Linked DNA regions of Homo sapiens: region 1 is linked to region 2. The links are contacts of gene promoters, found by promoter capture Hi-C in blood cells and fetal thymus (Javierre and others, 2016). All regions are on one chromosome and are shown on one strand. The core of a region is centred on a gene start or on the middle of the fragment in contact, and the rest is flanking DNA. Distances in the headings are between cores, read along the strand shown. Region 1 has its middle 25 kb from the start of SCUBE1. Region 2 holds the start of SCUBE1-AS1 (SCUBE1 antisense RNA 1).

Region 1 (5,618 bases), core at 2,658-5,157, 94 kb after region 2:
GAGGGGGAGCCCCTGGATAAGGTATGTGGTCAAGGCTTGGTTTGCAGGAGATAGAAACTGGGTGTCTGGCCAGACCATGGAGAGAGAGGCTGGAGCCAGAATCTGGAGGCTCAAGGTCAGAATCAGTGAAGGGAGTCAGCCTTAATTCCCTAGGCGATGGGGAGCCACAGATGGTTCAGGTCAAGATTGGTGTTTGAATGGCTCACATTTAAGACACCAGGAAAGGCAGCCCTGGGGTCCAACATCACTTATGGCAGGAAAGCGACCACCTTTGCAACAGAATTGGCTTCCTAACCTTCCTCAGCTGCAGCTTGGGAATGAGACCAGAGTCCTGAATTCGTGGGCTGGGCCAGGCTGGAGCTCCCGATGTGTGTTTGCTTCTCTGGTGTGTAGGAGGGAAGAGTGGGCAGGGGTGACCGCCCACCCACCCCAGACACACAGAGGTAAGATCACCTCACTCAGCTTTGTCATTTGGTGAGTAAGTTTGAAAAATATCAATTTATTTCATTCTCCTGTTTCACAGATGGGAAAACTGAGGCCCAGGGAGGGAAGGGGATGAGCTGAGGAGCTTGTGGTAGGTAAGTGGCAAAGGTGAAGAAATCAAAATGTCTTACATTTGTACCACAACTTGCAATTTCCTGACAATCCCCCTACTCACCCCACCCCACTCCACCCCACTGCCCCCTTTTTTTTTTTTTCTGAGACGGAGTCTCACTGTGTCCCCCAGGCTGGAGTGCAGTGGTGTGATCGTGGCTCACTGCAAGCTCCGCCTCCTGGGTTCATGCCATTCTCCTGCCTCAGCCTCCCGGTAGCTGGGACTACAGGCGCCTGCCACCACGCCTGGCTAATTTTTTGTATTTTTAGTAGAGATGGGGTTTCACAGTGTTAGCCAGGATGGTCTCGATCTCCTGACCTCGTGATCCGCCCGCCTTGGCCTCCCAAAGTGCTGGGATTACAGGCGTGAGCCACCGCACCTGGCCCCCACTGCCCTTTTAAAAAATATACTTAACAATGAAAACAAAACAATATTAATGCTATAATTTTTGCTGCTGGAGAAGGTATAGGAACACAGCTCACATACAATTGGTCAGAGTATAAACGACTGTAACCCTACGGGAGGCAGTTTGGAAACATCTTTCAAAATTTTCATAGCAAACCAGCATTTACTGCGAAGTTCCATTGCCAAGAATTTCTACTACAAATGTGTTTACACATGGATGCAAAGATGTGTGTACAAGGATGTTCATCATGGTACCACTTTTCATTCTAAACTGGGAGGAAAAAAACCCTAAATGTCCATAAACAGGGACTGGTTGAATAAATGTTGCTACATCCACACATGAAGTATTATACAGCCATTAAAAGGAGTGGAATAGACCAATTCATACTCCCACTACAGTGTTTGAGAATGGCTATTTTTCCATATATTTGGGGTATTTTCAAACTTACAAATCTTGGCCAATTGGATAGGTTTTTAACCTATCCCCAAAGGGCATTGTATTGTTTCTTGATGATGAGTGAGCTTGAACATTTTTCATATGGCTACCATTTACTTGAATTTGTTTTTCTGGGAGTTGCTTTTTCATATTCAGATTTTGTCAATTATCTGTTAGGTTTTAAGTCTTTCTTTCATTTACTTGTATAAACATGTTCTAAATTAAAGCAATTAATTCTGTGAATGTCAGTCCCTGTTCAGCTCTGTCTTGACTTGGTATATACCTTTTTTATTCACCTAGAAATGAAAAAATGTTACGTAGTCAAAATTGTTGCACTTTGATTTTTTGATATAGAAGGTCTTTTCTAAATAGTTGAATCAGTTCTCCTTTTCCTTCATGATTTCCTCAATCATTTAAAGCTTGCAAGGTTCTCATTCCTTTAGAGTCCGGTTCAATATTCCTTTATTGTTTTGGCCAGCCTAAGATTTGATTTGCTTTATAAATAATTTATTCTTTAGTATATGTGGAAAATGGACTTAAACTTATGTTTCTTTTCATGATGTCCCAACTTCACAGTCTGAATGTTCTTCCCATTGTTCATTGTCCAGAGAAGACACCATTATCACGTATTGAACTGTTTTATGGAGGAAAGCCTGTTTCTCATCTCCCCATTAATCATGTATTTTAATATCAGAGAGGGCTTATTCCCCATCTTTTTCAAAATATTCTTGGGACTTCTCACCCATTGATTTCCCCAAATGAATTTTATTGTGGCTTCTGTGTTCTGTATCCTGCCTATAAAGATCTTTCCTTTCCAAAGATTGTAAGTTCACCTATGTTTCTTTTAGAATTTTTAAGGTTCAATTTTTTGGTTTAAATTTTGGACCCATGTGGAACTGATCTGGGTGTAGGGGGTGAGGTAGGGATTCTGTTTTATTTTTTCCAGATGGCCGCTACCCACTTATCTCTATGCCTTACTTTGAACAATGCACCTTTCCCCTCCGATGTGAAATTCCTTCTCTCATTCACGTGCTGAAATCCTACATATTTCCATCCATTTCTGCACTCGCGTCTGGATGGAACTGTCTACTTCTTTTCCAGGGCTAAACTTTAAAAGTTATTGTACTTTCCTAAGATGTTTTAACATCTGGTAAAGCCAGCCCTCCTCCACTACTTTTGTTTTTCCTCAGAATTTCCCTGGCTGGTCTCGCACGTTTATTTTTCCAGATGAAATTTGGTATCATTTCGTCAAGTTCCAAAAAATAAAAGAAAATAAAAACCCTGTTGGTTTAAGGCTTTTCTTACCAGCCAGTGTAGTGTTTTCACAGATTATTGATATTAACCCTTTGCCATTCATTTGGTTGTCAATTTAGTTCCCCTCTACCCCCATTAGTTTTTTATTCTGTGGTATGGGAGATTTGTTTTTTGTTTTTATATAGTCGTCAATCACTTTTGCTTCTCCTCAAAAAAAAAATCTCCTTAATGATTTTAAAGCTCGAAGACTTCCCATTCCTCCTGAGATCTGGTTAATATTCACTTATATTTTTGACCAGCCCTCCTAGGGTTTGCTTTGCTTGATAAATAATTTATTTTTTTCAGCATCTGTGAAAGATATGAAGAAGGCATCCAAGCTGATTTTTTTTTTTTTTTGAGATGGAGTTCTGTTCTTTTTGCCTAGGCTGAGTGCAATGGTGTGATCTTGGCTCACTGCAACCTCCGCCTCCCCGGTTCAAGCGATTCTCCTGCCTCAGCCTCCCAAGTAGCTGGAATTGCAGGCATGCACCACCACGCCTGGCTAATTTTGTATTTTTAGTAGAGACGGGGTTTCTGCATGTTGGTCAGGCTGGTCTTGAACACCTGACCTCAGGTGATCCACCTGCCTCGGCCTCCCAAAGTGGTGGGATTACAGGTGTGAGCCACTGCGCCCGACCCCCAAGCTGCTTTTATATTGGCTACTCCTTCCATTGTTCTTTGCCCACTGAAGACAGCTTGGTCATGTATTAAATTCATGTACATGAGAACATTTCTCTGCTCTCTGGTCAGTTCCATTCATGCCAGCTCTGCTGTTTAATCAGAGACTTAATCATCTATTTGAACATCTGAGAGGGCTGATTGCGCACATTTCTCAAAATATTCTTTGGATTTCTCACCCTTTTATTTCCCAAAATACCCCAGCCTGCATGATTCATTTGGCCCTCGAAGGAACCCTGAGAAGTATTAATTCCACTAGCTGGATGTGCTGGGGTTCAAAAATTGCTAAGGGCCAGATGAGACGACACCGTTATCATAGCTGTGAGAGGGAAAAGTTTGCCTCTGCATCTGAAACTCCCAGAGGAAGGAGGTTGTCTCCATTACTGAGTTTGACAGGAAGAGAAAAAGAGGGGCGTGGTGGATATGCAGTGGTGTCTAATACTCAGCCTCAGATGATCTGTTGTGGGGGCCATCACTTGGCCCTCTTACGTAAAAGCTGCCGCCCACAGTGAGTCAGTGTGGGGGACATCTGGGAAAGAGGCAGGGAGTCCCATCTGGACTGGGGAGTGGGGACCAGGGTGGGATTGGAGATGGGATGAGGGTCTCCTGCCTCCCTGGGGCACCACTGCTCTGTGGATTCTACTTTGTCTCTGTGACCTCAGGTGCTTGGTGTGTCTCTTGGGGGCCTCTTATGTCCGTGCCCATGTCATTAGCGTGTGAGGTGACAGCCCTCTGCCGCCCCAGCTTCTTTTTTGGAGCACGGGTCTCAGATGAGGGGCTGGCTGAGCAGCTGTGGGAGGACCCCTCATTTGCAACTGACATCGATAGGTCAAGCCCAGCAGCCCCTGAATGAGCAGGAAGATTGGTGCAGCTGGGGTCTTCCACAGGCAGGCGATTCCCTCCCTGCTGGGATCGTCAACCAATCTGGGGCCGTAACTCACACGGGGAACCACCCCCAACCCCCAACCACCGTGCTTGGTGTTGGAGGGCCAGAGGGTGTCTCCCAAGTCAAAGACAAAGTCTCCAGGGCAAACAGGAAAAGCCATGGCTACCCCGTCCCCGGGGCCTCACCTGGCAGCCCTGGCTTGCAGGCTCTGTCTAGGATCCGGGAACAGTGTTTATTTCTTCTCTTTATTTTTAGCTTTTATTTTCATGAAACTTATACAGGCAAATAGCTCTACAAGGTTTGTTAAGAGGAACAGCAGTTCCCTGTTCCTGTCCTTCACCCCCTCCTGTCCCCTCCCCAGAGGCAACTATTTCACCTCCTTTAACCAATTATTTTGTTTTTACCCTGTGTCATTTGCCTCTGAGACTGCATCTTTTTTTTTTTTTTTTTGTGACGGAGTCTTTGCTCTGTCGCCCAGACTGGAGTGCAGTGGCATGATCTCGGCTTATTGTAATCTCTTCCTCCTGGGTTCAAGTGATTTTCCTGCCTCAGCCTCTTGAGTAGCTGGGATTACAGGCGCCCGCCACCACACCTGGCTGATTTTTGTATTTTTAGTACAGGTGGGGTTTTGCCATGTTGCTCAGGCTGGTCTTGAACTCCTGACCTCAGGTGATCTGCCTGCCTCAGCCTCCCAAAGTGCTGGGATTACAGGCATGAGCCACTCTGCCTGGCCTCTGAGACTCCATCTTGATTTTTTTTTTTTTTAGTTGTCAGCCTCATTGGTTGACCTCTGTTTCTGGAAGGTGAGGATATCGCTGCCTCCTGACCCCTACTCACTGTGCGCACCTGCCCCCCACCCTCAGACCTGTTTTTAGGACACCAGCATTGTCAGTGGTGAAGGGCATGGAGTTCTAAGCCACTTTTCCGGGTTCTAGTCCTCCTTCTGCCACTTAGCTGTGTGATCCTGGACAAATTCTTCAGCCTCTTGGTTGATTGCCTTCTACCTGGCCTTGCTTTCAATGAGTCAATTCATGTAAATGGCTTCCAGCAGCAAATAAATGACTGTCCTCTTTGTCAACCTTTTCCGCACAGTCGCACTCCCTACCCCGACCCCAGCAAATCATTTTCGTGGTTTCTCCTTTGCATCGTTCTCTAGACAATTGTTGCTAGTTCAGTCCTGCCCTTTCCTCGCAGGGCTTCGAGATGCACTGGGGTCTTCACGCCCATCTGCCCAGGGAAGCTGGAGCCTGGTGCCCCATGCCTATAGGGCATCCCGCCTCCAGCAACCTGGGATCCCCCTTGCCTTTCTCTTTTTCCCATATCCC
Region 2 (4,967 bases), core at 1,220-3,719:
ATTTGCGTCCCCATCCCAGCCCTTTCTAAGGCATGTGGTTTTAGAACTTGTTGTTGCCTAATTTATAAAGTGGGGAGACTAAAACCCTCTTTTTTTTTTTTTTTTTTTTTTTTGAGACAGAGTCTCACTCTGCCGCCCAGGCTGGAGTGCAGTGGTGTAATCAAATCACAGCTCACTGCAGCCTTGAACTCCAGGGCTCAAGCAATCCTCCTGCCTCAGCCTCTGGAGTAGCTGTGACTACAGGTGTGCGCTACCACACCTGACTAATTTTTGTATTTTTTGTAGAGATGAGGTTTCACCATGTTGTCCAGGCTGGTTTCGAACTCCTGGGCTCAAGCGATCCTCCCACCTCGGCCTCCCAAAGTGCTGGGATTACAGGTGTGAGCCACCACGCGCAGCTTAAAACTTTCTTTTGTAAGAGTGTTCAAGGGCAGTAACAGAGGTGATGGGCTCCAGCTCAGATCCCTCAAGCTGCAGGGGGTGCTCTGTAAGGCTGGCCCGCTCCCTCTCCCCTGCCTGCTGGCTCCTCACCTGGAGCCCCTGCCCTGCCTCGTTTCTTCCCCGTTCCTCTCCCTTGATTCCTGAAATTTCCCAGGCTGGTCACTAGGTGTCACCGCAATCAAGTTTTTCTGCCCCCACGGACCTGAGGTCTTGCACCAGAGAAGTCAAGAGTCAAGAGACTCACTCACCTCCTGAGCTTTACTCCCTCAAGGCCCGGGAGGCTGGAGGTGTCCTTCTTTCCTCCCTCAGGTTGCCAGGTTTAGCAAATAAAAATACAGGACGCCTCATTCAATCTGAATTTCAGGTGGACAATCAATACTTCCTGAGTATAAGTATGTTCAAAAGTTGCATGGGTCATACTTATAATAAAAAAAATTACTTGTTTATCTGAAATCCCAGTTTAAATGGGCACTCTGTATTTTATCTGGCAACCCTGCCCTGCCCTCCACAGGGACCCTAAAGGAAGCCATGGCGGACGGACAGGCTGTCTAGTGCCACCCTTAGCTCCTACTGCCAGAGAGCTCAGGCAGGTGCCCAGGCCATGGCCTGCCACGAACAGGGAAAAGGTCTGTTTTTCCTTTCCAGCAGGTGACGAGATGGAGGGCGCCCAGGCATGGGGGCCAAGGTGGTAGCATCCCAAAAGTGTTCCCACAGCAGCCCTGGGAACCCGGAAGGAGACAGTGGTAAGAGCACTGTGGACACACGAACAGGAGGATCTGTAAGGCTGTGAGCAGCGTCCCCGAGCCCCAGCCAGTGACTCTCCACCACTGTCCACCCACATGCCGCAGAAAGGAGCAGGGGCTGCAGAGCCACAGCCTGGGGCTGGAGTCCCGGCTGCGTCACAAGCAGTGGCGCTCACTTCCTCTCCCTCAGCTGTGCATGAGGGGCGGCAGCGGGTACTTCTCATGGCCCTTCGAGGACAAAAGGGGCTCATGGGCTCGGGGCACAGTAGGTACGTTTGGATCATCGGCAGGTACAGCCACTTTGGGGACATAAGCCAATTCCCGCCACCGACTCAAACTTAGTCTGGTGACTTGTCGCTGCACTCAACAGACAAACGTGTGGGCGATCTGTGATGTGCCCTGGGGGCACAGGAGTCAGGCGCTCTGTGATGTGGAGGCGAGGCTGGGCAGCGGGAGGGAAAGGTGTTCTGGAGCAGGAACAAGCCCATGCAGAGGCCTGGGGAGTGAGGCTGGGGGTCTCTGCGCTTCTGACAGACAAACTGGGGCTGGAGAGGCCTCGTGGAGAGAAGCCGGCAGACCTGCAAGCTGACCAGCTGTGGAAGGGAGCAAGGTGGGACAGCAGTGCAGGACCCAGCAAACCACGACGCGCTGGGCGTCCCTCTCCTGGCGGTGGGCTGGGCACACTGCTCTGCACGAGGGGTGTGAAGGCACTTTGTGAACGGATGATGCACACACTTCGGGCATGAGTCCCTCATGAGATGGTCTCATCTCCTCTACACTCCCATGCGGCATGTTTTCCTCTGCACCCTGCCCTGTGTGAGACGTGAGAAACACAAGGATGACTTAAACACATCCCTGCCCTTCTTGGGAGCTCATGGACTGGTCCTGCAGTAGAGGGCTGAACCATTTCAAACACATGAGTGCAAGTAAAGAGGAAGACGTGCACGCCTGCCTAAGAGTCAGAGACAGCTTCAGAGAGGAGGTGAAAGTGCGCTGGGTTTTGATGGATGACTAAGAGTTCTCCAGGAAGGGAGGGGAATGGGAAATGGCAGTAAAGGCAGAGGATGACACATACCGAGGTTGTAATCAGTAAAGGGCACGTGTGCCGTAACAGGGAGAACAACAGGCAGATGGGGAGGAACCAGGAGAGAGGAACTGGACTGTGGGAGGCCTTGGGAGGCAGGAAGGCAGCAGTGCCTGACAATGGAGGAACTCGGAGGGGGGCGGAGAAAGCGCCCCGGCTGCAGGATGCAGGAGGGAAGGGGGATGAGGCGGAGGTAGGGACACCAATTAGCAACCACAACCTTTGAAGAAGGCAGGGCAACAGGGGTGAGGAAGCTGGCTGGGTTTGGGAGGTGAGTAGAGCTCGGACGTGGGATCCGGTCACACTAGGATGTGGGAGCCACACAGGGGAAGGGTGAAGGCAGCACCCCAGCGCTGGTGCCCCACTGATGGGGGACGCGCTAGGAAGCACAGGTCTGGGAGGATGGGAAGATGCTGCGTTTGGTTTTGGGCAGGTGGGAATTCTGTAGCTGGGGTCCCCGTCTAGGGGACAGTTGGTACTGGGGTCAGAGCTGGAGAAGTGGCCACTGCTGGTCAGCAAGGAGACTCAAGAAGCTTAGGGGAGAGCTAGGAGAGGGCTGAGGCAGAGGAGGAGCCAGGATCGGGGGCTGAGGAGGAAGGGAAGAAGTCCCATGGGACGTACATGCTGAAAGAGTCTGGTGACATAATCAAGCAGCCACCAGGCCGGGAGACAAAAACCCACCTGGCTGGCCTCAGGCGGGTGACGAGGACCTGGGGAATGCTGCGGCCAGGGGTGGCCAGGCAGACGTCCCACCAGGAGATTGGCCTTGTGGCCACAGTCACAACCCAATTTCCCTAATGAGGCTAGGGAGGGCTCACACCACTCCCTAATGACCCAGGATGACCTCGGCTGCTTCCCCACTCTGCCAACCAGGCATCTGCCCGGTGGTTTCCGAACCCACACTCCAGATCTGCATGACTTTCCATGCGTAGGGCCTGTGCCCACAAACCCCAGGTGGGAAGCCAGGCTGTGGGCTACGGTGTAGGGGGTGGGCACTGGTCTGGAGCCTAGGGGCCTGGGACAAGTTCCAGCTCTGCCCCCAACATGCTAAGTGACCTCTGACAGGACACATGGTGTTTCCAGGGCCTCTGCTACTTCACTCTAGAACAGGCGTGCAGGCCAGCTTCCCTCCAGGGCAGCATGCTTTCGGTTCTCACGCACGTCAACTCCATGACCTCGCCTCAGCTTTTCCTGACTGCCTGCTCCCTACAGACCCCAGGCTGGACACTGGGGGGCCAGCGGGTCCTTGTGTCCAAGGGCATATCCTCACTTGGGGGAGAAAGGCCCGGGAGCAGAGACATGAGAGACAGGGCAGGGAGGCTGAGGGTGGAGGCCGAATGAGACAGAGGCAGGGATGCGTAGGTTCCACCTGGGGGATCAGGAGGTGTGCGGGGAAAAGGTGTAGAGGGTTCTCAGTGAGCGATGGTCAGTCAGGATGAGCGGGAGTTCCAGACAGAGGGAGCTGTGTGGGCAGAGGCCGGGATGAGAAGTTCACTATGGCTGGTTCATGACATGCCAAGCAAGGACAGGCTGCAGAGAACCACATTCCTCTCAGGAGCCATGGGAAGGTCTTGAGTGGGGAATGACAGAGCCAGAGGGTTGGGCAGAGCAGTGGTTCTGGCTGCTACCAGAAGGCTTGCGGGGCAGGGAGGCCTGTGAGGCAGCTGCCGCACTAACTCAGGCAAAAGACGGCAGCGCAGCCCTAGGCAGAGGGCAGCATGGCGAGACAGGGGCTCCTTGTGTCACAGGGCATCTGGGCTGCACAGCACCCCTGCCCCTGGCCCCCCATCCATTGGTTCATCAAGTGTCTTTGATCTTAGGAGGCGGTTGGGCCTGGGTGCAAATCTTGGCTTTGCTACTTCTTCACTACGGACAAGTCTCTTTGCTTTTCAGCCTCCATTTGCTCACCTGCAAAATGGGGTAGCTACATGACACAGACTGTTCTCAGGATCTGATGACTCGTGTCAGAGTCTATGCACTATGCTCAGCTATGATGCGTATGACAGCTTTGCACAGTTCTAGTGATCTGGACCGGGCTCTACATGAGGCGATGTCTTGTATATACGATCTCATTTTAATTCTCGTAAACAATTCTGTCATAAAATATATGAATGTTTGCCCCAGGACTTGTGGCAGAGAAGGACGCCAGGGCTGGGCAAGCTACCTGTTGGCCTAGCCCTCTGGGTTGCAGCTCTCCCTGCCCTGCACCCACAACTCTGGGAGATTTGAAAGTTCTGCAGCTTAGGGGAAATTTATACCACTGATGTGAAGTCAGTACTGGGGGTGCCCCTGGCGCCGGCTCAAGGCCAGGCCAGGAGAGGGGCGTGAAGCTGGGCTTACCAGCCGAAAGAGTTGTTTATGGAGTGGGAGGCTCATAAAAAATAATGGGCTGGATTTATTGTCCCCACCTTGAGGGCCATTCCGGACCGCACAGGGCCAGGACAGGCCTCCTCCGGTAGCACCATAAATCTCTCCAGTAAGCAAGGGAGCTGTTTATTCTCCTGTCCACCTGGTCTGCAGCAGGCAAGGGAGCGAGGAGAACCTGCAACCCCACATGTCCTGCCTGGCGCCCTTGCCTGGCTGATCTTCTCCAAGGAGTGGCTGAAGAAGGCAGGTGCTGAGGCTGGGATGGGATTCGGAGGCATGGCCACACCCTCTCTTTAAACAGGAAGTTCCTAGCCGTGCTGCCCCAGCACTCA

What was found. Contacts are between HindIII fragments. The CHiCAGO score rates a contact against its expected background, and 5 or more counts as called.
Region 1: a fragment that was not itself captured here is called in contact with the fragment with the promoter of SCUBE1-AS1 in region 2 in 6 of 17 cell types (M2 macrophages, M1 macrophages, M0 macrophages and 3 more); the score reaches 6.6 in M2 macrophages.

The regions. Positions count from the first base shown.
Region 1 is chr22:43,365,867-43,371,484 of GRCh38, forward strand. No RefSeq gene overlaps it. Among named protein-coding and RNA genes, the nearest start is that of SCUBE1, 25 kb to the left of the region's middle. RefSeq lists an enhancer at 3,767-4,268. The HindIII fragment of the contact is 4,109 bases long and covers 1,854-5,618 here.
Region 2 is chr22:43,273,473-43,278,439 of GRCh38, forward strand. It overlaps SCUBE1-AS1 (SCUBE1 antisense RNA 1), which reads left to right and starts at 2,470. Exons shown (of 2, transcript NR_134582.1): 1 at 2,470-2,539. All of the region lies in intron 4 of SCUBE1 (signal peptide, CUB domain and EGF like domain containing 1), which reads right to left. RefSeq lists an enhancer at 4,248-4,748. The HindIII fragment of the contact is 3,024 bases long and covers 1-2,799 here.